Linked DNA regions of Homo sapiens: regions 1, 2 and 3 are each linked to region 4. Evidence: promoter capture Hi-C in 16 types of primary human blood cells and fetal thymus (Javierre and others, 2016). All regions are on one chromosome and are shown on one strand. The core of a region is centred on a gene start or on the middle of the fragment in contact, and the rest is flanking DNA. Distances in the headings are between cores, read along the strand shown. Region 1 holds the start of SPEM1 (spermatid maturation 1). Region 2 holds the start of DNAH2 (dynein axonemal heavy chain 2). Region 3 holds the start of TMEM256 (transmembrane protein 256). Region 4 holds the start of EIF4A1 (eukaryotic translation initiation factor 4A1).

Region 1 (7,117 bases), core at 4,277-6,776, 150 kb after region 4:
GGTAGTCCACAATCATCACTGACCATAGTTGCCACGTTGATGCCAATGTTGACAAGAACGATGAGGCCCAGCAGCAGGAGTAAGATGTCCTCGGCATCGTGGGGGCTTTCTTGGTATTGATTGCAACATCTCACGGTGTTATGCCATAGCTGGTTTTCCATGGAGGGGGGGTCCTAGGGCCACCTGGGCCACCCCCCTCTGCCCCCCACCCCCGGCCCCAACCCACACTGCACTCATGCCAATCCCCGGAGATAACTACAAGCTGGTAAGGGAGCCAGGTCACAATGAGGTGAGCTAGCGAGAGTCACAATGTGGAGGTGGCAGCTTTTATCCATTCTGCTGGCCCCTTCTACCGCCATCTCCACCCTTGGCTCCTACTTGGTGGAGCCTGGTCCCCACATATCCCAGATCTCAGTCTGTTCCTCTATCTCCACGAGGTTTGCTTAACCCCACAGCTGGTTCCTGAGCTGAAGATAGGGTAGTTAGAGGCTGACACGGTCGTCACAGGGTTGAAGCATGCATCAGATATGTCCTGTTTCATTGTTCTTTTGAGACATTATGGCAACTTACATAGCCTGTTGGCGTGCCTTGCCCCATGGTTACTTTGGGGCCAGCATCTAGGGTGACTAGATGGGCGGGTGACACTGCGTCCCCTCAGGCATCACCCTGCTGTACCAGCCCCTCCCTACTCTGCCCATTTCCCTGTCAAAAGTCCTCTAGCTCCCATCTCTGCCCAATTCTTCCTGGCCAGACTCCAGCCCTAGGTGTTGGTGGTCCTTGAGCCCACCAGCCACTTCGTCACACTGACATCTGACTCACTGAGGTGGCTGCCTCTGCTGGGAACCAACCCCAGCCATGGTTTCTCCAACCTAACCACCTACACTCCCACCAACCCACCCTTACTCCAAGGTGAAAAACGGTTAAGCTACTACCTGAAGAAAACCCGAGCTGGGCGCGGTGGCTCATGCCTATAATCCCAGCACTTTGGGAGGCTGAGGTGGCTGGATCACCTGAGGTCAGGAGTTCCAACCTGGCCAACATAGTGAAACCCCGTCTGTATTAAAAATACAAAAATTAGCTGGGTGTGGTGATGCGCGCCTGTAGTCCCAGCTACTCGGGAGGCTGAGGCAGAAGAATCATTTGAACCCAGGAGGTGGAGGTTGCAGCAAGCTGAGCTCTCGCCATTGTACTCCAGCTTGGGTGACACATCGAGAATCTGTCTCCAAAAAAACAAGAAAGGAAGGAAGGAAGGAAGGAAGGAAGGAAGGAAGGAAGGAAGGAAGGAAGGAAGGAAGGAAGGAAACTTGCTGGGCGCAGTGGCTCACGCCTATAATCCCAGGCAGGTGGACCACCTGAGGTCAGGAGTTTGAGACCAGCCTGGCCAACATGGCGAAACCTCTACTAAAAACACAAAAATTAGCTGGGCATGTTGGTGGGCGCCTGTAATCCCAGCTACTTGGGAGGCTGAGGCAGGAGAATTGCTTGAACCTGAGAGGTGGAGGTTGCAGCGAGCCAAGATCGCGCCACAGAAGTCCGGCCTGGGTGACAGAGTGAGACTGTCTCAAAACAAACAAACAACCCAACAACAACAACAACAACAACAAGAAAACCACATGAAATTAACAAAGCACAAAATACATGTAATTGTTAATATACCAAAAAGAGTGTTTGACTTAAAACAGGTGCATCACTGGGGTCTGTGGTGCCCTGGAGACTGCAAGCCATTTGTTTACACAGTGAACCACTCAGCAGAAAGAAAGGCCAGTGATCATATCCCATCCAGCCTCCAAACACAGAGTAGATGCAGAGTAGATTCAGATTCCACTGAATGGAATCCATTGAAAATGATCAGTAACGTTAGTTGAATGAGAGAAGTAGGGCCATTTGTAAACGGTCCGTCTGCTCACATTCCAGGAATCTGTCTAGAGTGGAAGGTGAAGTCCAGCTCCCTCAGCCTGGGCTCACGCACACAGCTGCTTGTTCTCAAGTGGTATGTGTGTGCATGTGCATATGATCCCAATTGTGTAGCAGAAAGGCAGGGCCTGAGTTTCTCTGTTTCTCAGTTTCTGAGTTCACATGGTGAACTGGGGAAGGTGGGAGGTTCTGGTGGGTCAGGCTGGCTCTGCAGCAATGGGATGGAGCATCTGAGGCCATGAGCTTGATCCTCAGTGTCTGTGTAACCATGAGCAAGACCCTTAGCTTCTCTGAACTTAGTCTCCTCACTGGTGACATGGTGAGTTAATCAAAGGAGTGAGGTCACAGAGAGCTGTGATGTTACAGTGAGGTACCTCTTGAGGGGGGCCCCAATATTTCTCTTCTTTTTTTTTTTTTTTGAGATGGAGTCTCGCTCTGTTGCCCAGGCTGGAGTGTAGTGGTGCAATCTCGGCTCACTGCAAGCTCCGCCTCCTGGGTTCACACCATTCTCCTGCCTCAGCCTCCCAAGTAGCTGGGACTATAGGCGCCCACCACCACGCCCGGCTAATTTTTTGTTTTCATATTTTTAGTAGAGATGGGGTTTCACCATGTTAGCCAGGATGGTCTCAATCTCCTGACCTTGTGATCTGCCCGCCTCGGCCTCCCAAAATGCTGGGATTACAGATGTGAGCCACCACGCCCGGCCTTTTTTTTTTTTTTTGATGGAGTCTCGCTCTGTCGCCCAGGCTGGGGTGCAGGGGCGCCATCTTGGCTAACTGCAACCTCTGCCTCCCACGTTCACACCATTCTCCTGCCTCAGCCTCCCAAGTAGCTGGGACTACAGGCGCCCACCATCATGCCCAGCTAATTTTTTTATTTTTTATTTTTCATTTTTTAGTAGAGACGGGGTGTCACTGTGTTAGCCAAGAGGTCTCGACCTCCTGACCTCGTGATCCGCCCGCCTCGGCTTCCCAAAGTGCTGGGATTACAGGCGTTAGCCACTGCGCCCAGCCAAGGGGGCCCCAATATTTCCTCCTCTGCTCCAATCCTGCTTAAGGGTATAGGACCTTCAGGGTGACTGGGGAACTGTGAAGGACTAGACGCCCTCTCAGCCATCCCTCCCCAAATAAATCAGGGCTTACGTGGGAACCAGGCCTCACCGGTGGCTGCAGCCTAACGCTGGGCTCTGGCAGGCACCAGCCTTCTGAGGAGCTAGGGCCATGGAGATGGAGATCTCTCCTCTAGTGCACGACTGCCTGGGGACCTGGGGTAGAATTTAGGGGCTTCTCTGTGCACTAAAGAAAACAAGGAATTAACTGGGCGTGGTGGTGCCTGTTGTCCCAGCTACTCAGGAGGCTGAGGCAGGAAGACTGCTTGAGCTCAGGAGGTTGAGTCTCCAGTGAGCCATGATTGCACCACTGCCCTCCAGCCTGAGTGACAGATCAAGACCCTGCCTCAGGGGAGGGGGAGGAAACAGTCCGGGCACAGTGGCTCACACCTGTAATCCCAGAACTTTCAGAGGTTGAGGCAGGCAGATCGATTGAGCCCAGGAGTTTGAGACCAGCCTAGGCAAAGTAGTGAAACCCAATCTCTACAAAAAATAGTGGTGCGGCTGGGGTGGGGTGGCTCACACCTGTTATCCCAGCACTTTGGGAGGCTGAGGCGGGCGGATCACCTGAGGTCAGGAGTTCAAGACCAGCCTGGCCGACATGGCAAAACCCCATCTGCACTAAAAATACAAAAATTAGCAGGGCATGGTGGCACACGCCTGTAGTCCCAGCTACTCAGGAGGCTGAAGGCAGGAGAATTGGTTGAACCTGGGAGGCAGAGGTTGCAGTGAGCCAAGATTGTGCCATTGCAGTCCAGTGTGGGTGACAAGAATAGGACTCTGTCTTAAAAACAAAAACAACCCCCCCCACACAAAAACCAACCAACCGAACAAACAACAACAACAACAACAAACTAGTGGCCCATGCCTGTAGTCCTAGTGACTCAGGAGGCTGAGGTGGGAGACAGTTGGGACTGCAGTGAACTGTGATTGCACCACTGCACTCCAGCCCGGGCAACAGAGAAGACCCTGTCTCAAAAAAAAAAAAAAATTGAAAACAAGGTAGAGGCAGGTAAGAGCCTTGGAACCCAGAAGGGCCTAGGAAAGGCTGAGGACAGGGACAGGCCTGTGGGGCAAAAGGTTAATGAGGGTCCTCAGGGCTCAGGGCCCTGTGGCTAGGGAGAGCATTCTCTTCACAGCCACAGCTTCTAGGTGCTGTGTGGGCCCTGGCACCCCAGCACCACCACAGATCACCTCCTCTCTCCTTTTTATTTTTTTCCAGTCACCTCCCAGTTAGGGAACGGTACACCCAATTCTTGCTTGTCTCCTCGGCAGTGCTGGATCCAGAGGCTAGGGGGTAGCAGCCGGACAGGGCCTCCACCTCCCGGGTCAGTTCCCGAAGCCGCCGTCTCATGTCCCGGGCATCATACACTATTCGGCCTGAGGAGCGGTGCCGGGAAAATTCAGGGATGACTGCTGGGCCCAGGGTGGGAGCTGGGACAGGCTGGTACTGAGCCGCCTCTGCCTCTGGCACCGCCCCCTCCCCACCGTTCTTGTGGCTAGGAGCCTCAGGGCTGGGAGGTGGGGGGTTCACAGGATACACATAGGCCCTTAGGCCCAGCTCGGACCATATGCCTGTTTTGAGGGGCCTTTCCTCTACGGTAGGCTGGAAGCGGATGGTCTGGGGAGGGGACTCTGGGGCATCCTGAGACCAGGGAACCCAGGTCCCCTGAGTGTGTTGGAAGCCTTCCCAGTCCTCAGGGACATCCCAGTGGTAGGAGCAGATGGCTGGGTACTGATGAGGCTTCTCGTCATCAGTGTCAGGAGCCCAAGCTACTGGGCAGTGAGCACAGCGTGTGGGAGAGCCTCGACGGCGATGGCGGTGAGCTGGGGGCGGGGACACAGTCATCATCACAGGGTCCATGGTGCACCGAAGATGGACTGCAGGAGAACTCTGCTTCTTAGGGGGCTGGGTCTGCTTTCTGAGTAATGATGACTTGGGAGCTTCTGTGGATGGGGGAGAGGTGAGACTAGTGGGGAGGCCAGCTCCTACAGGCATGGAGAGGCAGGGCCCAGGAAGGGCAGCCACACAGCTATGTTGTCTGAGAGGGGCGAGCAAGAAGGGAAGGGGCTAATTTAGGGCTGAGGCTAGAGCACTTGGTTTCTGCCCCTCCTATGTCCCAGCCCCCAGACCTCTTACCTTTCTCACAAATGGTATCATGGAACACTTGGTATAAGACACCACGGAATCGGCTCCAGAGCTAGGTGGGGGAAGACACAGTGATCCCAGGTAGGCCCTGGCCGGCAGGCCTGCCCCCCACTATCCCACCAGCTCCCTCCCATCTGGCCCCACCCTGACCAGGGTCACTATATTGATGCTAATGTTAATGCAGATGATGAGGCCCAGCAGCAACAGGACAGAGTTGCCCAGGTCCTGGCAGCTGTTGCTGTTGCAGTTGTGATACGAGGCCCACTCGGGCCTCGGCCGCTCAACCATGGCCATGGGGTCCCTAGGACCACCGGGGCCCTTACGCCCCCAGCCCACCGTGCCGACAGTGTCCACTGACTGCCTGCCTGTCCCTGAGGGTCTTGGGAGTGAACGGGTCACAATGGTGCCAGGCCACTCCCTTCCAGTGTGCCAAGGGGCTACCCTGAGTCCTGGACCCGTGGCTGACCCTCTCGCCTGAGTCCAGGCCTTGGCAGAGGCCATGCCTCTCACCTCACATACCTCTGCTGAGCTAGCTGCCTACACCAGCCCACTGGGCCTCTGGCCTGTTTGACATCTGCCCCCATCAGCCTTTGTCCTTCCATTATAGAACGACACCAGGCTCCAGTCTCGGCATAGACACGGGTCCTGACATTCATTTGCCAAACAGACCCATTACCATGGCAACCAGACCCCAGCACACACTCCCCCTTCCTCTCAGACCTCAGAGCTGGTCACTGAAAAGACCCCTCCTCCCTCGTCACTTCCCCAGGGCTTGTTTCTTTAGAGACCGCCCTCCCCACAACAGAGCAGGCACAACCAACAGTTAAACTTTTATATTTACAATATTCTCTTCATCTTTTGCCAGGTTTAAAAATGTGTACAGAGCCGCAAAGGGTTGGGGTAGGGATAAGGGATTGTCGGGATTGTTTTGGGGAGAGGAGCTGGGCATTGGAGTCCGTGGCTGAATCATGGGGTCCCCCAGCCCCCCTCCCATGCCCCAATTCTGAGGGCATCTGTCTACAGGGTTCAGGGCCCAGGTCTCTAGCATTTGGAGGGCATGGCTGTTTGGAGAGGAGCTAGACCAGGCAGGGGAAAGGATCAGAAAATAACTAATTTTCCATGGATGGAGGTAGGAAGAGAAGGGACAGTCAAGAGGCAAAGTTCTGGGGACTCAAGACCAGGGATTCTGGATTTGGGTGTCAGTGGAAGACAGCACCCCAGCCCCTATTCAAGTTTGGCACTAACACCCCACAAAATGCCAGCAGATGAGGACTCTCCCCTCGTCCACTGTGTCCCTTAAGCCCTTCCAGACATCATTCTTTTCCCAAATGCCCAAGCCCAAGGCCCTCCGGGGAGTCACCTCACACATTTCAAATTATTCCTGCTGGTGTCTGCCCAAGCCCTGTCCCCACTGCCCCCTCCATCTGTTCCCCAGCACCGCTGACCTCATTCTCCCAACCTGTCCGGTGAGACCTTTCTCCCCACTGCCTCCCTCCACCATTCAAGGCTCCTTTCTTTCAGACAAGGAGGGGGCGTGGGTCAGAGGAGGGTGGTCAGCTGAGGAGAAGGCTGGTCTGACACTGAGATGGGGACAGCTTCAAAGAGGGGGACGGAGATGAAGGGGAACGGAGAACTGAGGCAGGGTGGGGGAGACATGGTGAGGAGAAGGGGCACAGGCGGGAGCCCCCTCACCTGCCACATCCCTCGCCCTGTATCCTGCTTGCCCTTAGTTTCCCCTGCCCTGCCTGGGACTGGGAAATTCTTGGCACATTTTGGGAGTCTTTCCGCTCAAATCCACCTACCCAGTTTGGCACGGATGAGCAATGCTCTGAGGCCTGGGGAAAAGGCTGTCCTCGGACCACAATGAGGGCTTTGGTCAAACATGCGTGGCCTCTGCGGGGGGCACGTTGCCACACCCCCTCCCCCCAACTCGGGAGCAAGGGCCG
Region 2 (7,429 bases), core at 2,579-5,078, 140 kb before region 4:
GATTCCGGAGCTTAGTAGTAGGTGAGTAGGTGAGATGATCCAACTCCCTTGGGAAAACTGCTGGCATTCAGGTTCCAGGCAAGAACTAGGCCAGGGGAGACTGGGTGCGGTGGCTCACGCCTGTAATCCCAGCACTTTGGGAGGCCGAGGCAGGTGGATCACTCGAGGACAGGAGTTCGAGACCAGCCTGGGCAACATGGTGAAACCCCATCTCTACTAAAAATACAAAAATTAGCCGGGTGTGGTGGCACACGCCTGTAATCCCAGCTACTCAGGAGGCTGAGGCAGGAGAATCGCTTGAACCCAGGAGGTGGAGGTTGCAGTGAACTGAGATCGCACCACTGCACTCTAGCCTTGGCAACTGAGAGAGACTCTGTCTCAAAAAAATAAAAAAAATAAGCTGGGCATGGTGGTGTATGCCTGTAATCCCAGCTACTTGGGAGGCTGAGGCACAAGAATCACTTGAGCCCGGGAGGCAGAGGTTGCAGTGAGCTGAGATTATGCCAATGCACTCCAGGCTGGGAGACAGAGTGAGAATTTGTCTCAAAAAAAAAAAAAAAAAAAAAAGAAAGAAAGAAAAGAAAGCTTGGAGCTGGGAGAGGCAGAAATCCTTGCTGTTCGAAGGCCAACACATTCATTTTAAAGCTCCTTCCCTTACCTCCCCAGAGGATTCTCCATACTGAACCTCACTGTCTTCCCTCCCATCTTCCCCTACTCCTCCTAGCAGCGAGCAATCCCATTTTAACTGCTTTCACCTGAGCACTTCAGAACTCAGAAGGATACATTCTGCACATTTCTAAGATCCTGGAACCTAATGCAAGTTCTTATGGCCCAGGGACTTTTCTCCCATGCCCACGCTTAACCTCTCAACCTTTAATTTTAGAAGGGGATTCTATTTCACAAGCTACTATCAGTGTAAAGGAGCTCCAGGTAAAGAAGGAGGTCTACACTTAGCTCATAGTCCTGTCTACACTGACCAGTGCTCTCAGGGAGATCCCAGCAATAGCAACAACTACCAAAAACCTTCCAACCTTACTGGCTCCGGCTCACCCACAGGAAAGGAATCCCTCAGGTCAAAGCCACAAGAGGCTGCCTCGTTAAACTCTTTCCTCCCTAGATCTAGACTTCTTTCCTGTCATCCTGAACCTGAACCTCCGCAGTCTACCAAGTCCCTGCCAAAATGAGGGCGGAGATAGAACAGCCCTCAACAGATGGTAGAAAGCATCAGCCGGGCTTTGGATTCAAAGGGTGGCAAAACAGGCTGAGTCTCCATGGTGATGGGCTTAATGGGAGAAAAACATTATTTGTTTTGCCACCCAGGGTGAAAATGGGAAAAAGGAAGAGATCAAACCCTCTTCAGTGGGGTAGGAGCAACCAGGAACACTTGAAATAAGGAGGAAGAGGCTAGAGAAAGGACTGGTTGGTGAACTCCTGGTATATTGTGGGAAATTTTAAGACAGAAAGAACAAGGATGAGGCTGGCCAGGAGGAAGACATACAAAAAAAGGACTCAGTGGCAGGGCTGCTGAACCTCCATGGCTGGGGGCGTCACTTAGCCCGTTTCCTGCCCAGAAGCAACAGCGCCTGCTCCCCAGCCCTAAAATGCCTCCAAGCCCCTCTGACTTTCCCCACCCTCCATTGCTAAGCATCCTCTGCCCCAGCAAGTACCCACCAGGCTCCTCCTTGGGGAGCTCAGCCTGCAGCTCTGGCTCACTGACAGCCGGGGCATTCCCCTGCTCCTGTGTGGCCACAGCAGCCCGAGTGGCCCGCCCTGACCAGCTTGCCTGGGAGCTTCCTCGGCCACTCAATCGCTGCTTCTTCTCAGCTTTGCTGGACATCGTGCAGGCAAAACCTACAGGTATACAGGAGTGGAGAGTCTACAAGCAGATACCACCCCTGAACCAGCCCCCTGATACAAGCAGTCCCTTTTGAATTCATAAATTGACTGAAACTCAATATGATCATCTTTTCTGGTGGTACCCACACCCTGCTCCATTAACCACAAGGGCTCTGTACTCCACAGGGGCCTGGGAGGCCTTGCTGTTTTTCCCTAGGATATCCTACTGTCTTCGGGGCACTGGGCTAAAAATCAAAGTCAGTCCCTCAAGGCACTAGGAACAAATGGGAGTTAAAGATGATGGCCAGGCTGGGTGCGGTGGCTCATGCTTGTAATCCCAGCATTTTGGGAGGCCGAGCCGGGTGGATCACCTGAGGTCAGGAGTTCGAGACCAGCCTGGCCAACATGGCAAAACCCCGTCTCTACTAAAAATACAAAAAATTAGCCAGGAGTGGTGGTGCGTGCCTGTAATTCCAGCTACTCGGGAGGCTGAGGCAGGAGAATCTCTTGAACCCGAGAGGTAGAGGCTGCAGTGAGCCAAGATCATGCTACTATACTCCAGCCTGGCTGACAGAGTGAGACTCTATCTCAAAAAAAAAAAAAAAAAAGATGGCCAGACACCCCACTAATGAGGATTTAGAACCTCTATCTCTGCCCCGGGGTATGAGAACATAAGATAATCAGGAAAAGATCTATCAAGCTGAAGTGTGGTTGCCCAAACCCTCATCCACTCTACCCTCCAGGACCATGAGTGAGTGAGAGAGGATCAAGGAAGGGGTGCACATCCCCCATCCTTTGTCACTGTTCAATCATTCAAGCAAACCAAGATGATTTTCCTATGTACCTCTTTTCCTCCCAAGTTAAATGGAAATATGCTCCTCCCAATCCCACTAAAATCTGCAACATCTGTAAACAGAGAAAAACAGTATTTGCCACCTGGGTCTATCGCTTTGAAGTCCTGAGGGGCAGGAACACTGTTTTGTGTGTACTGAGGTCTCTTAGCAGAGTTGGCTGAGGAACTCTGTGCTAATGGTTAAGATCAGTCAGGATCATTTATTTGACTCAAAATGCCCTGAGAACAGATTGGAAGAAAGAAGGACAAAAGTCATCCAATCATAAATTTCAAATTGTGTCATGAGGAAAAAGCAATTGGGGCACGAGGAAGGTCACAGTGGTGCCTCTCTCAGAAAGGTAGGATGGCAGGAAGCGGGGATCTCGGACAGGTGCTCAGAATCCCAGGCGCAAAGTCTGAGGCGCTGGGCACTCTCTTTTCATTAGGCTGCAGCCTAACGGCACCTGTGGCTCTCCTTCCTCATCCCCACAGGCTGCCACAGGCATTGATCTCAGGTTATGAATTTCAAACTTGAAGGATTTGTACTTTGCTCCAAGGAAAAACGTTCTGTTAGGCCAGCAAATCAATAAAACCAACTACAGCAAGGAGGCTTCCTCCATCAGTCTCCAGAGAAGCATCAAGCTGCGCTTTCCTGCCTCAAACTAGAGCCTGAGGCGCATGCACCGTGGGGTTCACCACGCGATCCCACACCGCAGGCCCCAGGAGGAACTGCTCTGCTAAGTCGGGGCTCACTCTAGTACTAGGAAATACCGCAGGGGCCAGCAGTATTTATCCTGCAGTATAAATCCAGCAGTATTTATCCAGCAGTATTTATACCAGCAGCTGGTATCCTTAAACTGGTTACCAGCAGGCAAATTTCCCCTCAGAATGGCTCTTCCCCCCCAGCTGTCACAACTGCCCCTTCTCCTCCCCCTCCCCCACACAAATATTCCTTGCTCCCTCTCCCTCCACAACTGCCTCTTCTCCCCAACAACTGTCCCTTCCTACCCCGACACTACTGCCCCTTCTCCCCAGCACTCCTTCCCTCCTTCCCTCTGCCCCCGACACACACCTTGCCACGCTGACCCTCCCCTCCCTAGACCGACCGATGGGCCACTCTAAGAAGTTGCCCCTCGCAGCCCTCTCGGGCCGGCGTCTGCACGCGTCCCCATGGCAACCCCGGGCAGGGAGGGGCGAGTGGCCGGTGTGCGGCCCCTCGGAGCCCGCCTCCTCCGCGCAGGCGCCCTGGATCCCTGCTTCGCGGCCCCACCCCGCCCAGGTCTACCCCTCAGGGACCCAGGGCTTGAAGGCTCCGGGACTAAAGGAAAGTAGCCACATCTGGCGAGCCGAAGGGTGCGGGGGGCCTGGTGTCAGGACCCAGCTGGAAGGGCTGGGGCGAGAGACAGTGAGCCACCGCCCCGCAGGACATTGAAAAGGCAGGGAGAACCCAATCGCCCGACCCCGCGCCCAGGTCTGTGCGCCCCAGCCGGAACGGGTCCAGCAGATGGCGCCGGGCGCCAGGCCGGCGAGGGATATTCGCGATGTAGAAGGCGTTCCAGGATTTCCAGGCAGCCGTGGGTGCAGCTGGATCCGGGGGAAAAACCGGGCCTGGAGCACCCTTGCCCTCCTGCTCCTTCCCCCTTCTTAGTTCGGATTGGGGTCTAGGATTGCGGGGGGGCGGCGCGGGGCGGGGAAAGGGAGGGAAGACGGGAACTGGAGTTTTGGGAATCTGAGGATTGGCTTTCGAAGGCATCGCTGGTTTTTGGGGGGGATGAGAGGCGGGGACTCCCTGGGGAAGGTGACCGGGCCTGGGAGGGGCTTCGCTCTCCATAGGAACAAAGGCTGCGTCGTGAGAGAGGAGGCGAGAGGGGAGGGCTATGAGGGCCGGGGTACATCTCCGAGGGTGCCAGGGGGCGCTGCGGGCCGGGGCTGCTAGAAGGCGCCTGGAAGACCGCTGTACCTGGTGCCGGGAGGAGCTTTGGGGAGACCTGGGAAATACAGGGAGGAAGCCGAGTGGGGGGATGGGAAGGCGCCCTCCCTGTTTCCATCAATAGTGCCTAATTAAGACAAAGCCAGCAGCGAGCCCACTGATTACATTTCCATGAGGAGCGAAATTTATGACATTTTCTTTGCTGGATGAGGAGAAGAGAAGCTGGCACCTCAGTTCCCCCATTTTCTGTTTGGCGTTCACACCTAACAGATCTCATTATGCCAGCCTGGCACTACCAGGAGTGGCAGTCCCTGGTACTCCTGAAGAGCAAGTGGATTAACCACACCCTATCCCAGCGCTGACCTCACCCTCCCACCTACCGTATCTTTATTCCCAGAAGTGTCAACCCTTTCCCTCCCCCCGACCCCCAATAATTCCTCCTGCCCAGCCAGACTCCTGTTGCTGACAGCAGGAATGGAAGGAGAGGAGTACCGCCCACCCCAAAACCAGCTGCACAGCTAGCACAGCTAAGATGGAACGTGGAGGTGTTCCTCTAGCCAGATAGGCCATGGGTGGCAGACAGAGGTGATGTGGTTGGCCAGAACCCCTAGGGAAAAGTCCCAAAGGAGTGAAAATTTGCTGGAGGCGTGGGGTGGGGAGCCTCAGGGGCAAGGTTCATGGGTCCCTCGGGGAAAGGAACTTTGCACAGACCCCATTTCTTTTCTTAAACCCCCCTCCCCAACTGTGGCTGTGCCTACGGATCCCAGCCCCCCACATTATGCTAAATAGGTAATCAAACATCTCGCTTTGCTAATTACTGCTCAATCCGATTAAACGCTGCTGAAGCTCATCAACAGAGGTGGAGGTAGGGGGAAGGGACGAAGGCGGGGCAACCACAGCTAGCTATGATGGGGGTCTTTTCCCCAGGGGCTCTTCGGGGCTAGAGAAACAGCCAGGGTTGCAAGACCGTGTACATCCCAAAGGAAAGGGCAGAAGAGTTGTGACCTCGAGCCTCAGCCTTGCTGCACCTCCCAGCCACGGCCCTTTTCCTCCTCCCAGAACCTTCATTACCCTCCGAACCCAGGCATCCGGCCATTCCCACAGCTCCCCACACACATCCCTGTCCCAGATTTAATAAGTTCTGTTCCCTCATTGTCAATATTTGATTTCTCAGAGCCATCTCCACGGAGAGGGGGGTGGGGGATCTTTCCTTGCCTCCCCCCTACTTTGGCCCTCTTTTGCCCACCCCCAGTCTCTTTGTGCCCCCAACCTTCTCTGAACTTGCTGACTTAATGAAATGATATTAAAGTCTTAAGCAACTCCAAAAGAATGGTTGTTATGGTGAAGGGAGTGGGCAGGACGCCTGGGTCCCGGAGGGGAGCAAAGGCTGAGGAGGGGGAAAGGGAGCCAGAGGCTAAGGTCTAGAGACCCCAGTCCCTAGTGGGGAACAGCAGATTTGGGGTGAGCTGGGGGCCAGACCTCTGGATCTTGGCTGGAAGCAGGGGATGAGGACTGGGGGCTAGGAGAAGGTGGAAAGAGAGGTCCATTCCAGGGGTCAGGGTCTCGGCCTGCTGTCCGGATCATTCATCAGAGACAGAGGCCAGGGGAGACAGGGCCTCTATGCCAGCAGCCTCCCTGCCGGCTGTGCCCTGGGCTGGTCCCGTGAGAACCAGAGTAGATTACTCTACAGCCTGACTCATCCTTCTCCCCCAGCAGCCCCCCACAGGTGATTTGTAGCTGATGCCCCCACGATGGTAGGGGCCAGGATAGTCATTCCATGACATGAAGAACTGAGAGCTTCCAGGACAGAAGAGAACAGAGGCCAAGGGAAAGGAAGCCAAGCACCCCCCTTCACCTCCCCCCACCCATCCCCATCTCCCCTGGGGACCCTGGCCCAGCCCCAGTCCCCTTGGGGTGGTGGGAATGCAAGGACATTTGGCTGGGGCTGATTGATGAGGGAGGAGGCAGCCACCGGGCACTGAGGCTGCTGTTTGCTGAGCACACAGATTCCTCCCAACTCACCAGCTGCTACCCCCTGAAGCAGCTCAGTCTCCCCCCGACATCACCCCGCCAGCCACTGGGGTTGCGGTGCCTGAGTTTCTGATGGCAACTGGAGGAAGAGGGAGAACCAGAAAACTGAACACTTCGATTCCCTGTGGGAATTGGGGTACCTGGGGCCTGGTCCCCTCAGAACTCCCTTCAGAACTCCACTTTCCCTGCTACCTTTCAAGTAGCTCTCTGGCTGCCCAGTTGTCATTCCCATTCATTCTGTGTCCCTTTTCCTTCCCCCACCCAACTCTGAGCCTATGCCAGACAGCCTCCTGCCTCCAAACCACCGTGTGACATTTCTCCCAGGTCTCAAAACTCTCCCAAGCCCCATGTCCACGGTGGCCCATATAGCCCCTTAGGAAGGGCCATTTTTCATTCTAATTAAAATTCCAGATATGATGTCAACCATTCCGCATCAGAAATTCCCACTGCAAGGCCAGGCACAGTGGCTCACATCTGTAATTCCAGCACTTTGGGAAGCTGAGGTGGGTGGATCACCTGAGGTCGGGAGTTCAAGACCAGCCTGGCCAATGTGGTGAAACCCCATCTCTACTAAAAATACAAAAAATTAGCCGGGCGTGGTGGCACATGCCTGTAGTCCCAGCTACTCGGGAGGCTGAGGCACGAGAATTGCACCACTGCACTCCAGCCTGGGCCACAGAGCGAGACTGTCTCAAAAAAAAAAAAAAAGAAAAGAAAAAGAAAAGAAATTCCCACTGCCACTCCTTGCCCCATTCCCCTTTCCCTAAAAACCCCCAACACACACACACACACACACACAC
Region 3 (6,826 bases), core at 372-2,871, 170 kb after region 4:
CAGACAGAGCAGGCTGGGGGAAACCAGGCGCAGGGAGGGAGATGGGGAGAGGGAGACCCCAGTGGACCGCCACGCAGCCCCCTCCACCGACCCGGCTTAGGTCCTACCTGGCTCAGCCCTGGGGCCGTGGTGCCTCCATCCAGGGCTCCGAGTGGGGGGCGAAAGGCCTTCGGGAGGGGGCGGCGGCCTCTGAGCCCCCGCGGCCCCGCAGGCCCAGCCCCCGCCCGCAGCGCCTCACCCGGCGGGGGAGGGGGATCGCCCCAGCCCCGGGGGGCGGGGCCGGGATCCAGTCGATCCCCGGGAAAAGGAGAGCTAGGGGATGGGATCAGGGGGAGCCCGAGAACAGGGAACCCCGCAGTAGGGACGATAGAGAAAGGAGGGGGCAACGGGACAGGACTAGATTGAGGATCCGCTGGTTCCGTGGGCCGGCTTCGAGGGACCAGAAGGCGGTCCAGGCGGAGGATCCTAAGGATCGGGTGCTGGAGGAGGAGTCCACGTTAATCCCCAGGGGCCCGGGGCCCGGGAGCGCAGGATCCGCGGTGCAGGGGCAGGGATCCAGCCGGAATCCTCGGGGAGGGGGAGGGATCTAGTCGATCCCGAGGGCGGGCGTGAGGGGGAGGTCCGGGGAGTCAGAGGAGGGCGGGAGCCGAGTCCAGAGCCCCGGGGCGGGGGTCAGCGCGGATCCTAGGAGGGAAGGCGGGGGTGAGGGGAGGCTTCGAGGGACGCTCAGCAGCCGGGAGGCCCGGACTCCTGGCTCCGCGCGCCAGGGCCGGCCCGCCCCGCGTCCATCCCAGCCCGAGAGTGATGATCCGCCGGCGGAGCAGCCGCAGCAGCCCCGCGCGTCACCGCGCGGCCGCCTCCCCCGCCCCCTGCCGAGAGAGCGGCGCACACCCCCCGCTCGCACCCCCCGCTCGCACCCGCCTGCCCGCCCGCCCTCCGGAGAATGGGGGGATTGGAGATGGTGGGAAGAGGCGGGAGCGGACAGACGGACAGATGGACGTAGCGGGCCAGGGCAGGGTGGAGACATTCCCCCGGATCTCCCACCCTCGGGGCTCTCGCGGTCTCGGAGGGCTGGCGGGGGGGAGAATATCTTAACTACAGGGGGCGGGGCATCATACAAAGAAGGCGGAGCCTTCAGACATGGGGGAGGGGCCATTTGTGCAGTGGGCGGGGTTTACTGGCAATAGGTGGGGCTTTGCTATCTTTCGGGCCGCCTCTTTTTGGTAGTGGGTTTGATTTGAAGCTGAACAGGAGGAGCCTGTGGAAAAAGGGGCGGAACTTTGAGAGAAGACCGGGATCTTTGGAAATTGGCCGGAGCATGGGGGTGGGGGGTTCGAAGAGGCGATCAACTTGGAAAGTGGGCCAATCCTTGACGCAAATCCCCCTAGTCCCGCCCTCAACCCCGCCCCCCCACTGCTTAGCTCCTCTGTTCCTAATTGGTGCTGGTTTCTCCGCCCGCCAGACGTCTTCGCCACTCTGCAGCGGTTTTACAAAGGCGGGTGAAGAGCGCAATGCTGAAATGAACACGGCCCGGATTGGGCGCCTGTGAACCTTATTTGCATGGGCGGTCGGGATTGGCTGGCCTCTTGGGTGGCCTGGGCGGCGTTGGTCCGGTGCGTCCTGTTCTACAGCTATGGCCGGGCCAGCTGCAGCTTTCCGCCGCTTGGGCGCCTTGTCCGGAGCTGCGGCCTTAGGCTTCGCTTCCTACGGGGCGCACGGTCAGGGGGCTGGGGACGAAGATGGGACTGTACTTGGGGCGTCCTCTGGGGTCTGCTGCAAGGGCGTAACCTATGGGAGGTGCCCGGCCTCTCGTTTATCAGACAGTCCGCGGAGCCCTAAACCTTTTAAAGTCCCCCAGCTGGGTCCAATTGGTTCCCAGTACTGCCCGAGCGTGTTCCCACCAATCGGAAGCTTCCTGGGGCGGGGGGGGGGGTGCCCTTTCTCGCCAATGTCCACCTGGGTCCCCCCGGATTGGGGGCGGTCAGGGCTGGCACTAGGACCGCTAACCTTTGCTTCTTTTCTCCACAGGCGCCCAATTCCCAGATGCCTACGGGAAGGAGGTGAAGTAACTGCGCTGGGGCTCCCTGACTCGTGGGTCTACGAAGGCACAAAGTCTGGGGTCCCTGGGGGAAGTGGGCGGGGAGAGGGTGGGGCGAGCCGCGGATCTCTGGAGCAGCAAAGGCCAAAGGCTCTGTAAGCCAAAGGCCTGGGATCAAGCTGGGACTTCAAGGGTGGGGTGGGGGAAGGAACTTTGGTCCCTTGTGTCATCAGGGGATCTCAGTACCTGTATTGCCTACGACATCCCTTCGTTTCTGTTTTTCTTACAGCTGTTTGACAAGGCCAACAAACACCACTTCTTACACAGCCTGGCCCTGTTAGGGGTGCCCCATTGCAGAAAGCCACTCTGGGTAATCTTTCCCTGCGCCTAACCCTGACCAAGCCCCACACACTCCCTCTCAGCCTGCCCTGTTCTTAACAATCCTGTTTTCTGTGCTGTGTCTCCTTCAGGCTGGGTTATTGCTAGCTTCCGGAACGACCTTATTCTGCACCAGCTTTTACTACCAGGCTCTGAGTGGAGACCCCAGCATCCAGACTTTGGCCCCTGCGGGAGGGACCCTGCTACTCTTGGGCTGGCTTGCCTTGGCTCTTTGAGCTCCCTTTTGCTTAATTACTGGGTTTTCTGGGCAGTTTTTTTTTTAAAGAGTTGGAGTAAGAAGAGGATTAAAAAGGAAAGGCAAATAAACTTTGGAGTCTTTGTTCATCTAACCTCTTGGAGGACGAAGGGTGGGGATTCAACCTCTGAACTCCCTCCATTTCCTAAGACTTAATCAGTGAGCCTTAGGTCTGGGGATTCTGGTCACTTTAAGTTAACTTATTATAATGTTCTTACCCTGGTGGGCATCAAAGTCATAAAGAATGCTTGAAATAACACAGATTCCTACTGAAGCACTCTTTCGGGCCTGAGAATCTGTATTTTAATAAGCTCATCTTGTGGTTCTGATGCATACTAGGTTTTTAATTTTATTATTATTATTATTATTATTTTGAGATGGAGTCTTGCTCTGTCGCCCAGGCTGGAATACAGTGGCGCGACCTCGGCTCACTGCAACCTCTGCCTCCCAGGTTCAAGCGATTCTCCTGCCTCGGCCTCCTGAATAGCTGGGATTACAGGCGCCTGCCACCATGCCCAACTAATTTTTTGTATTTTTAGTAGACACGGGGTTGTGCCATGTTGGCAAGGCTGGTTTTGAACTCCCGACCTCAGGTGATCCGCCTGCCTTGGCCTCCCAAAGTGCTGTGATTACAGGTATGAGCCACCACGCCCGGCCTGTTTTTATTTTTATTTTTATTTTTTTGAGACAGAGTTTCACTCTGTTGCCCAGGCTGGAGTGCAGTGGTGCGATTTTGGTTCACTGCAACCTCCACCTCCTGAGTTCAAGTGATTCTCCTGCCTCAGCCTCCCAAGTAGCTGAGATTATAGGTGCATGCCACCATGCCTGGCTAATTTTTGTATTTTTAGTAGAGATGGGGTTTCACCATATTGGCGAAGCTGGTCTTGAACTCCTGACCTCAAGCAATTCACCCGCCTCAGCCTCCCAAAGTACTGGGATTTTAAAAAATTACTATAGGGTCATGGTTTTCAGCCCTGTTGTTATCAGCACCCACTTACTCTAGAAGTGAGGATTAAGGCAAGGCAGGATAGGAGTGTCATTAGTTACAAAATACTTTGGGGTTCAAAGCAGGGACAGATCATGTATTGGGGATCAGAAAATGTGTCACAATGCTTGAGATGATCCTTAAAGGAGCTCTATTGTATGGAAGAAACAATGAACAAAGAACAAGATGGAGAGGGGAGGGGTTTGGAGAAGCAGGAGTCTTCAATGTGGGCTGAGTTTGAGTTAGGTAGGAAAGGAGTGAGAAAAGGTGGCAGGACAGGCTGGAGTGGCAGTCACAGCATGTAGAGAACTGGAAGATATTTAGTGGGGACAGTATTTATTTATTGTGACGCAGTCTTGCCCTGTTACCCAGGCAGGAGTGCAGTGGCACGATCTCAGCTCACTGCAACCTCCGCCTCCCGGGTTCAAGTGATTCTCCTGCCTCAGCCTCCCGAGTAGCTGGGATTACAGGCGCCCGCAACCGCGCCCGGCTAATTTTTGTATTTTTAGTAGAGACGGGGTTTTGCCATGTTGGCCAGGCTGGTCTCAAACTCCCGACCTCAAGTGATCCACCTGCCTCAGCCTTCCAAAGTGCTGGCATTACAGGTGTGAGCCACTGCTCCTGGCAGGCACAGTATTTATTAAACCAGTGTTGATCATGCGTCAGACACGTTACAAGGAAGATCAACCCTGAGGGAGACAGATATCCCCTCCCTCAAGGAGTTTCCCATCTAGTAGTGGAAATGGACCTGAAATAACTAAACATTTATAAAATTTGCAAAACATGTATCATTACAAATTGTGCTGCATGCTGAAAGGAAAGGAACAGAGAGGACCCTGTGCGATGGCTCAAGCCTGTGATCCCAACATTTTGGAAGGCGGACGTGGGAACATTGCTCGAGCCCAGGAGTTCGAGACCAGCCTGGATAACACAGGGAGACCCCTGTCTTTACAAAAATAAAAAAATAGCGAGGCGTGGTGGCTCACGCCTGTAATCCTAGCACTTTGGGAGGCCGAGGTGGGCGGATCACAAGGTCAGGAGATCGACACTATCCTGGCTAACACGGTGAAACCCCGTCTCTCCTGAAAATACAAAAAAAAATTAGCTGGGCGTGGTGCCGGGCGCCTGTAGTCCCAGCTACTCGGGAGGCTGAGGCAGGAGAATGGCATGAGGCTGAGGCAGGAGAATGGCATGAACCCAGGAGGCGGAGCTTGCAGTGAGCCGAGATAGTGCCACTGCACTCCAGCCTGGGCGACAGAGCGAGACTCCGTCTCAAAAAATAAATAAATGAATAAATAAAAATAAAAATAAAAATAAATAGCCATGGCCAGGTGCGGTGGCTCATGCCTGTAATCCCAGCACTTTGGGAGGCTGAGGCGGGTGGATCACGAGGTCAGGAGATCGAGACCATCCTGGCTAACACAGTGAAACCCCTGTCTCTACTAAAAATACAAAAAAATTAGCCGGGCATGGTGGTGGGAACCTGTGGTCCCAGCTACTCGGGAGGCTGAGGCAGGAGAATGGCGTGAACCCGGGAGGCGGAGCTTGCAGTGAGCCGCGATGGCGCCACTGCACTCCAGCCTGGGCGACAGAGCCAGACTCCGTCTCAAAAAAAAAAAAAAAAAAAAATAGCCAGGTGTAGTGGCTTGTGCCTGTAGCCTGCAGGCCCAGCTACTCGGGAGGCTGAGTTTGGAGGAACACATGTCTGGTTCCTGACTCATCTTTTTTTTTTTTTTTTTTTTTTTTGAGTCAGAGTTTCGCTGGTTGCCCAGGCTGGAGTGCAATGGTGCGATCTCGGCTCACTACAATGTCCGCCTCCTGGGTTCGAGCAATTTTCCTGAATCAGCCTCCCAAGTAGCTGGAATTACAGGCATGCGCCACCATGCCCGGCAAATTTTGTATTTTTAGTAGAGACAGGGTTTCTTCATGCTGGTCAGGCTAATCTCAAACTCGCGACCTCAGGTGATCCGCCCGCCTCGGCCTCCCAAAGTGCTGGGATTACAGACATGAGCCACTGTGCCTGGCCTCTGACTCATCTTTAAAATGAAGAAATATTGTGATCTACGAGTGTACCTCAAATTATGCCATCTCCCTGGATATACATGCTTCATTGGCTCCCCTTTGCCCTCAGAAGACAGTACAACATCTCCGCACAAGGCCCTCCACCATTTGGCCCTGTCATCCTTCTCACAATCCTCAGGCCAGCCCCTAGGAATTCCTTCAGGTCTCTAACACACTCTCTTGCTTCAGGGAAGCCTGGAAAGCTGCTGTTACAGGAGTCGGGAGCTCAGTAGAGACTAGTGTTGGTGATAGAAATTCTGCAATTAAAAGCATGCAGATTGTAACTAGAGATACGGAATGAGATGAAATTACCTAAAATCTTCTCATTAGAGAAAAAATCTGCACACTTTTAAAAATGCATACCGGCAGGGCACAGTGGCTCACACCTGTAATCCCAGCACTTTGGGAGGCTGAGGCATGCAAATCAAGAGGTCAGGAGTTTGAGACCAGGCTGGGCAACATGGTGAAACCCTGTCTCTACTAAAAATTTAAAAAATTAGCTGGGCGTAGTGGTGGGTGCCTGTAATCCCAGCTACTCGGGAGGCTGAGGCAGGAGAATCGCTTGAACCCAGGAGGCGGAGGTTGCAGTGAGCCAAGATCATGTCATTGCACCACTCCAGCCCAGGCGACAGAGTAAGACTCTGTCTCAAAAAAAAAAAAAAAAAAAAAAAAAAAAAGCATACCTTCAGGCCAGTCGCAGCAGCTCACGCCTGTAGTCCCAGCACCTGTAATCCTGGGAGGCTGAGGCAGGTGGATAACATGAGTCCAGGAGTTCGAGACGAGCCTGGCCAACATGGTGAAATGCCGTCTCTACTAAAAATACACAAATTAGCTGGCGTGGTGGTGCATGGTGCTTGTAATCCCAACTACTTGGGTGTCTGAGGCACGAGGATCGCTTGAACCCAGGAGGCGGAGGTTGCAGTGAGCCAAGATCGTGTCACTGCTCTCCAGCCTGGGCAACAGAGCAAGACCTGTCTCAAAAAAGAAAAAAATGCATACCTTCAGAAAAATTAAGTATGCCTTCAATATATTATACAGATTGTACTATATAAAGCATACACAAAAATAGAAATTAAAAATGATGATAGCTGGGTGCGGTGGTGTGTGC
Region 4 (7,340 bases), core at 3,082-5,581:
CTGTTGAGCTTTTGGAATATGTCATAGATCTGGTCCTTGAATCCACGGCTTAACATTTCGTCAGCTTCATCCAGTACAAACATCTTGATGTATTTGGGGGCTAGAGAAGAAAAAAAAAGCCAATATATAGCATATGATTAGGGAAATGTGGGAGAGATATATCCAACTTCGCTGATAAAAAACAGAGAGGAGCCAAGTAGTCTGCTCTCAGAGTACAAAGACTGATCCTTTGCCCAGGACCTTCCCGCCAGGCAGACAACAGCCCTGGGAAGTAGGACACTGCCAGGGCTGCACTGGCAGGGAAGCCAGAGGCTCAGATGACACGCATGGGCTCCATCACAGAGCAGCTCTTCCCCCAGAGAGAAACCAGCATCCTTGGGAATGACTCTGGCTTACGCTGAAAGACTGGAAAGCGTGCACAAGAGCAAAGTGACCCAGGGGATTGGAGAACCGAATTACTCACACAGGTATCTCCGGTTAAGCATATCAAACACACGGCCAGGGGTACCCACGATGATGTGGGGAGCTTCCATCTGCAGTTTCTGCACCTCAGCACGCACGTTGGTGCCCCCGATACAGGCGTGACAGGAGGCGCCCATGTAGTCTCCTAGTGCCATGACCACCTTCTGTATCTGAGCAGAGAGAGGCAGGTGCTCATATGTCAGTTACCACTGTGCCCGGCACCATTCTTAAATGTTTTTCATGTATTGATTCCTAACCAACAACTTTGGGGCATGCACTATTATTAAACTCACATTCAGCTGAGAAACAGGCAGAGGCTAAAATCCACTTAAGATCGTGCTGTCAATAGGTGGCAAAGACAGGATTTCAACTCAGTCTGGTTCCTGAGTGTACAGTGATTCACAATGAGGCCGCTCAGATAATTAATTCAGTTTCTTTACTCTAGATATTTAGAACCCTTAACCTTCTGAAAACTAATTTGACCAACTGCCTCATCACGCAGCAACCATTTTTTTTTTCTTTTTTTGAGACAGAGCTTTGCTCGTTGCCCAGGCTGGAGTGCAATGGCACAATCTCAGCTCACTGCAACCTCCACCTCCTGGGTTAAATTCTCCTGCCTGAGCTTCCCGAGTAGCTGGGATAAAAGGCACACGCCACCATGCCTGGCTAATTTTTGTATTTTTAGTAGAAGCGGGGTTTCACTATGTTGGCCAGGCTGGTCTCCAACTCCTGATCTCAAGAGATCTGCCTGCCTTGGCCTCCCAAAGTGTTGGGATTATACGAGTTGAGCCACCACACCCAGCCAGCAACCAGTTTTATAGAACAGGTGATGCATATCCATGTCCTATTGCACTCCTGCCATAGGACCCAAGCTACGAGGCATGTTCACTCTGAGAAAACTGAGAGCCAAGTGCCTTAGAATGGAGCTCTGCTGTAACTTCTTACATTATCCACACCCAGAATAATCACTGCCCCTGCCACAGAACATTTAAAAACATGCTCTGACATCAGTGTTGCAGCATGACCCAGGAAAAAGTCCAGCATTAGAATTGTGTGTGCCCCAGGCATGAAACAGCTCTGGCTATTAAGCAAGGGTGAAAAGGACTGTCCATCTGCTCTGACTACTGTAAGATCACCCCCACACCAAGGGATCTCTTAGCCCATAGTGAAGGTGCTTATTCAGAACACAGTCAAACTTGCCCAGCCAGCCAGGCTTCACCCAACAGCTTTCCCATTTGACTCAGGAAATGGGTGGAGGAAGCAATGGTTACGTTTGGGTAAGAAATAGCTTTTAATTAACCCAGCAGGTCTCGAGAGTGTTAGGGCACCCATGTCTTCCTCCCAAGGTGGTGATCAGAGAAGACTTCTCTGGTCCTTGGATTATACTCATCATCCCTAAATCAGCCCTGAAGGAGGGAATAGAAGCCACTCTTACCTGCTGAGCCAATTCTCGAGTGGGTGCTAGGACCAAGGCCTGGGTGGCTTTTAGATCTAATTCAATCTGCTGCAGAATCGATATGGCAAATGTGGCCGTTTTCCCAGTCCCAGATTGGGCTTGAGCAATCACATCATAACCTAAACAAATAAATTAGGAGTTGAATGTGGTAAAGAGCATACCCTTTGGGATATTCAAGTCCTAGGTTAATGAGGTCAATAAGCAACCAATGAACCAAGCATTTCATGGCTCACAAACTACCTTCCCAATCAACACAGTTACACAATGGGAACCAGATCAGAAACAAGGACCAGTTATTAACTCATCTAGTATTGCACACCAAGCTGGACTAGAAACATGGCTGTAGATGCAAATATAAGCTGGCTACAATACCACCTCTTTAAAGGAAACCTATGTGTCCAAGGCATGAACCAGGCATGGGCACGGATCAAAAGCCAAGCTGGGATGAACAAGGAGTTGCTTTGTCCCTGGCTGATATGAGATGGGCATCACCAACCAGATGCCACTCTACCCAGGTCAGGGACAGTCCACAATGTCTTCTGGGACTGAGAGGTCTCACCCTTGATACAAGGTAGAATGGCTCGCTGCTGGATGGCAGAGGGCTTCTCAAAACCATACGCGTAGATGCCACGGAGAAGGGACTCCGAGAGGTTCATGTCATCAAAGCTGTCAACAATCTCATTCCAGTTACTCTAGGGGATGCAAAGAAATTAAAGCTTGAGTCATGGAAAAGGTGGAGCTGAGCTGTAGTCTCCGAGCAAACAGAATCTGGTGCCTACTAACAAAAGCCTCAGAGCTTACAACCCTCCTCCCTTTAGGGAAACCAGCTGCTTCTAGATGATCTGGGAAATCAATCAAGAGGCCACTCTAACTCTATACGGCTGAAAGTTGTAATGGGGGAGGACAGAATTCCATTTCTCCAGTCTCACCTCGATGACGCCTTCGGGCTCCATCCCATCGGGGCCATTGTCTCTGGATCTGTTGGTTTAAAGCATAAGTTTTGTCCCCTGCCCGACCGAAGCACTCAGAAATCCTGACAGCCGGGCTCTGTCAGGAGTGGCCTGCATGATGCCATCAATCTGCTGTCCCAGATCCAACTCCCACCAGCTCCCAAAAAATACCCAAAGGAGGAGTTTCTATAAAACTGAGGCATTTGCCCCATGCAGGCAGCGGCTCAGGCCAGGCCACCCCCGACATAAGGGGGTGACCCTTTCTGAAGACAGGCCGGCAGGCGTGCCGCCGCGCTCACGGTGCCCAGAGGTGGTGCTTGCCGCCGGGTCCACGTGGGCCCGACCCAGCCGCTTAAAGCCCAAGCGCGTGCACCTCCCACCGCAGCACCAGCGCGCTGGAAGTCCCGCCCTTCACCTCCCAGATCGGAGGGTAGGACATCCCCTTCCCCCCACGTCATCCCGCCCGCGCCCTCCCCCACTCCCTCCAGCCGAAGCCCCCCCCTCGCGTTGCCCGGATGTGGGAGGCCGCGGGCGGTGGCGGCCTCGCGCACAATGAGCCCAAGCCGAGCTAGCAAAGGGGGAGATTGCACAACACTTAGAAGCGAAGCAGACTGGGGGAGGGGAACGCCTCAGGCCACCATGTGCTCGCTCCCTCGACCACCCGGCGGCGTCTCCCACCCCTCCATGAACAATCCACATCCCGCCCGCCCCCGTCGCGAAGTAGCGTCGCCCTCCCATACCTCAGGCCGCTCACCCCCGAAGGAAGGTGGACCTGCCCATCCGCAGTTTGCCAATAGCCCGGCTTGTGCGGCAAAATGGACCCGCCCGCCCGGCGCCGGGTGGGCTCCTGGTGCCTCACGCGGCCGCTCCTCGGGGTTAGGCTCAGTCCTGGCCGTCAAGAAAACCAGCACACTGAACGGCCGGTTTCTTCTCCCCGACCCGTGTTTTAGCCGCGACGAAGTGACTGGATCTAAGGACCAGGCACCCCCGCCTCTCGCGAGTGGTACCGTCAGAATGCTCCGGAACCCCGCGCGCCGTCCCTCCCCCGGCACAGGGAGGCAACCGGACCTGCCGGCTCTGGGCCACACATAGTGGCGGCCGCCTCCACCTTTCTTTCCCACGCCAGGTCGCGACCCCGTCTCGCCACTCAGCGCCGGGGCTTCGCGCATGGCACCGCCTCGGGTCGAGGCCTCGTAACAGACCTCGCACGCCTGACCCTAGCCGGGCTGTCCCTACCCTCCGCCTCGACCTGGTGGCCGCGTCGGCCGTGGGTCTTCCCCCTCGCCCCTCCAAGTCGGACCCTCCCCCCACCCGGTTCGGTTTCTCCCGCAACCCTGGTGGGCCTCTCAGCTACCCCCGGCGGGCCCGTCGGAAGGGGGCGGCAAAATAAGCAGCCACAATCTCTTGCAAATGCCTTTCTTACCGGGAATCCTGGCTCGCAGACATGATCCTTAGAAACTAGGGCGGAGTGCCCGCCTATCGACAACTTATAGAGCGCCCGACTCCGCCCCGGCCATCGCATTGGTTTGGCCGCCCCGGCCCCGCCTGCCGGCGCTCAGCAACTCGGCATGACGTTAGTTCCTAGTCGCTCCGGCCCGCAGGCACCATTGGATAACTCGAGTGCCTATCAAGGTGAAGGCCCGCCCCGCAGCCTCATTGGCTGGAGGGCCCGCCTTTCTCGCCGGTACGGAAGTGACATAGAAGAGTCAGGCCTCGAGGCCTGGCAGCCATCTTGGGGCCCTGCACTCTCACACGTGCGGAGGCGACAGTGCCTTGGTCATGTGGCTCCGTAGGCCCTATCACGCAAGGGGGGCGAGGTCTCAGCCTCCAGAGGCTTCCGGGCTCTGGGGGTTATCACTTCCCTTTACTTCTGCTCCCGGTCTCCACTGGACTCAAATGTTATTTGTTTTCCCCTGTAGCAGAGATGGATTCGACACTGCCTGGACGTGTGCCAGGGATGAAGGAATCAACAGCGATATCGTAGGGATGGGAGGATTCCCCTGGCTGGATGGTGGAGGGATGGAAGAAAACTGTAAAGGGCTTTGGGGTACTATCATGAATCCTGGTTGGTCCCCTCCCCAGTCCCTTGTGTCCAGTTCCCCAGCTTCCCTCTCGGATGCCCTTATTCTTGAGGCTTATCTACTTTCCCTCCTTCCTGCTCTCTGCTCCCATCTCGGGGATTTGTTTGGGTGAAGACAAGGTGTTGGCAGTGCCTGAGCCAGGGATGGAAAGCTGAACCCTTTAGTCTCAAGAGACTGGCTGGAAGGTCTGAGCTAAGCATATCCACTAATTTGAAGCCCCTTAAGGAAGACCACCACTTACGTATCAACAAAGGATCCTTTATTGACCAGAGCAGGACCGTGGCATTTATATATTTTTATATATATATATATATATATATATATATATATATATATATATATATATATATATATATATATATATATATAAAAGTTTGAAGATCTGGCAGGCAGTGATCCTATTGTCCGCCCACCACCCCCAGCACTGATTTCCTGCTCCCTGCACGGGGAAGGGGGAGGATGACTGCTCCACCCAGGCCACAGGGCCACACTCCCCTGCAAACAGAGGAAGAAAGGGGCTTTTCTGTAGCCACCCCCTGCACATCAGAAATCAACAAGTATTCTCTCAAAGAAAAAAAAATACAGAAATTGAAACATTTAAATATGAAAAACCAAAGGGAAGTGAGTGGGAAGAGGCAAGAGAGGAAAGGAACTGGAGTTTCTTGGGAAGGGACTCCCATGTCTCCCTTCCCATTTATGGGCTTGGGGTCTGGGGTACGAGGCTCACACAGTGAGTTTGCAGTGACACAGCTCCTTGTAGATCTGCCGACGAAGTTTGGGCATGTCCTGCTGGGTGAAGCTGAATGGCTGAGACAGGGCCAGATGCTTGCAGTACTGGGTGTTAACAAAGCAAGCCATGAGAAACCCCCCGTGTCAGGACCTGTGCTACACATTTCATATGAGATGTGTCTCCATCCTTCAGAGAACATCCCCAAAGGGAGCCAGGGTCCCACAGCCTGGGGTTCAAAAACAGCCTGACTCTAAAGCTAGTGTTCTTACTTGATAGAATGTTTTAGATGGAGAAAATACACTGAGTTGGAGGTTAGCAGGGAGCTCTATGAAGGCCAGAGGCCCAAGACTAGAGACCCAGTCCCAATGTGGGATGGAGAAGTCCAGAAGAGAACCAGTGAAGCCAGTGTTTTGGTGTTCTAAAACAGATTACTTCCTGCTCCACAACTGACTATGAGCCAAATGAGGGGATGCATAACAGCCTCCCGACCCTTTAACCCAACTGACTTCAGAGCTAGGGGAGGTGGCCCCATCATCTGCTTACCTGCAACACAAAAGCACCACAGTCACTGTCATTATTCTGCCTGGCCACATTCTAGAGAAGAGAAAGAAAGCAGGCCCTTCACATGGAGACTCCCAGGGGTAGGACTTCAATTTCTGCCTTCTACCACTGTCCCCACCAACACCCTATACCCCTCCCTCAGGAAACTCACCATTTTGAAGTAACCTTTCCAGCCCTGGTGGAAATCCAGTCGGTCTTTCTTTACCGCCTCTGCCTGTAGATACTTGGCAATATGCTATGTGGATGGGGGAAAAGAAAGTGATGCCCTAAGTTTCTCAATTGAACACAGTATGGTGGGTACAGTGCTGGCAGACACCATGCCCAGGTCGCCCCTCAAAGACCCAAAGCCCACCCTTCTTCCTGCAATGCCTTGCCACTGCACCGCCCCACATTTTGCCCATCTCTCTCCTACCCCCTCAAACCTTAGGGCAGCGGCGGTTTAGGGTACGCTGCGAGTCAAAATAGGTGATGGTGCGTCGCCTCACATCAACAGAGATGAGGGACCAATGCACCTCCAGGTGGATGGGGATTAGCAGTAGCTCCTTATTGAAGATGTCCACCTAAAGAGATAGTGCCACAGGTCAGGTACAACAAACAGAAGTCTTGCCTTTTGCCATGAAGGTTCTAGAGAGGAACAGAGACACAGGTAAGGGAACCAAGTGAAAGAACAGAAGACCCAAGGCCTAGATTGTGGGCAAGCTCAGGATCTGCATGTTTCGGTTCTTCGGGGTAAGGGAGGAAGGTCAGACAATGGAGGAGACATCAGAACGAACACTGGAGAACCCATGATGGGCAGGCGCTTTTCACACTTTAAAGGGAGAAGCACTTAGCAGCTAAGAACCCAGGCCCAGGATTCTGGAGCCTGCCAGAATTCAAATACAGCTCCTCCATTTACTGGCTTATGACAGTGGGCAACCTACTTAATAACCTTCTATACCTCAGTTTCCTTATCTGTCAGAGAGTGTAAATAGTAGTACCTACACCTCATCCATTTGATATGAGGATTAAACTAGTGACTATCCATAATACACTTAGAACAAGACACAGCACAAAGTAAACACGCAGTTAATGCTCATAACAATCCTACCGGGAAGTTCTCA

Evidence for each region. The method cuts DNA at HindIII sites, captures the fragments that hold promoters and counts their contacts. A CHiCAGO score of 5 or more calls a contact.
Region 1: the fragment with the promoter of SPEM1 here is called in contact with the fragment with the promoter of EIF4A1 in region 4 in 8 of 17 cell types (naive CD8 T cells, fetal thymus, non-activated CD4 T cells and 5 more); the score reaches 7.5 in naive CD8 T cells.
Region 2: a contact is called between the fragment with the promoter of DNAH2 here and the fragment with the promoter of EIF4A1 in region 4, in 1 of 17 cell types (activated CD4 T cells). The highest score is 6.1, in activated CD4 T cells.
Region 3: a contact is called between the fragment with the promoter of TMEM256 here and the fragment with the promoter of EIF4A1 in region 4, in 13 of 17 cell types (activated CD4 T cells, naive CD8 T cells, total CD4 T cells and 10 more). The highest score is 12.8, in activated CD4 T cells.

The regions. Positions count from the first base shown.
Region 1 is chr17:7,418,733-7,425,849 of GRCh38, reverse strand. It overlaps SPEM1 (spermatid maturation 1), which reads right to left and starts at 5,526. Exons shown (of 3, transcript NM_199339.3): 1 at 5,322-5,526; 2 at 5,163-5,223; 3 at 4,218-4,969. The coding sequence starts at 5,465. The coding sequence ends at 4,245. NLGN2 (neuroligin 2) reads right to left here. Exons shown (of 7, transcript NM_020795.4): 7 at 5,990-7,117. It overlaps SPEM2 (SPEM family member 2), which reads right to left and starts at 234. Exons shown (of 3, transcript NM_175734.5): 1 at 24-234. The coding sequence starts at 161. RefSeq lists an enhancer at 5,523-6,042. The HindIII fragment of the contact is 12,172 bases long and covers 1-7,117 here.
Region 2 is chr17:7,714,143-7,721,571 of GRCh38, reverse strand. It overlaps DNAH2 (dynein axonemal heavy chain 2), which reads right to left and starts at 3,828. Exons shown (of 86, transcript NM_020877.5): 1 at 2,773-3,828; 2 at 1,672-1,851. The coding sequence starts at 1,837. The HindIII fragment of the contact is 13,987 bases long and covers 588-7,429 here.
Region 3 is chr17:7,398,892-7,405,717 of GRCh38, reverse strand. It overlaps TMEM256 (transmembrane protein 256), which reads left to right and starts at 1,621. Exons shown (of 4, transcript NM_152766.5): 1 at 1,621-1,718; 2 at 2,029-2,060; 3 at 2,328-2,408; 4 at 2,509-2,743. The coding sequence starts at 1,634. The coding sequence ends at 2,652. It overlaps TMEM256-PLSCR3 (TMEM256-PLSCR3 readthrough (NMD candidate)), which reads left to right and starts at 1,587. Exons shown (of 10, transcript NR_037719.1): 1 at 1,587-1,718; 2 at 2,029-2,060. It also overlaps a transcript of NLGN2 not described here. RefSeq lists a silencer at 813-1,142 and an enhancer at 1,633-1,812. The HindIII fragment of the contact is 6,317 bases long and covers 1-1,913 here.
Region 4 is chr17:7,569,816-7,577,155 of GRCh38, reverse strand. It overlaps EIF4A1 (eukaryotic translation initiation factor 4A1), which reads right to left and starts at 4,331. Exons shown (of 11, transcript NM_001416.4): 1 at 4,292-4,331; 2 at 2,848-2,896; 3 at 2,478-2,610; 4 at 1,898-2,037; 5 at 464-632; 6 at 1-100. The coding sequence starts at 4,314. It overlaps SENP3 (SUMO specific peptidase 3), which reads right to left. Exons shown (of 11, transcript NM_015670.6): 8 at 6,663-6,800; 9 at 6,392-6,475; 10 at 6,223-6,273; 11 at 5,187-5,783. The coding sequence ends at 5,673. It overlaps SENP3-EIF4A1 (SENP3-EIF4A1 readthrough (NMD candidate)), which reads right to left. Exons shown (of 22, transcript NR_037926.1): 8 at 6,663-6,800; 9 at 6,392-6,475; 10 at 6,223-6,273; 11 at 5,677-5,783; 12 at 4,292-4,872; 13 at 2,848-2,896; 14 at 2,478-2,610; 15 at 1,898-2,037; 16 at 464-632; 17 at 1-100. It overlaps SNORA48 (small nucleolar RNA, H/ACA box 48), which reads right to left and starts at 2,443; the gene lies at 2,309-2,443. It also overlaps SNORD10. RefSeq lists enhancers at 2,974-3,103, 2,566-3,321, 3,322-4,077, 4,584-4,653, 4,774-4,833 and 2 more and silencers at 3,244-3,383, 4,284-4,343, 4,354-4,413. The HindIII fragment of the contact is 10,998 bases long and covers 2,637-7,340 here.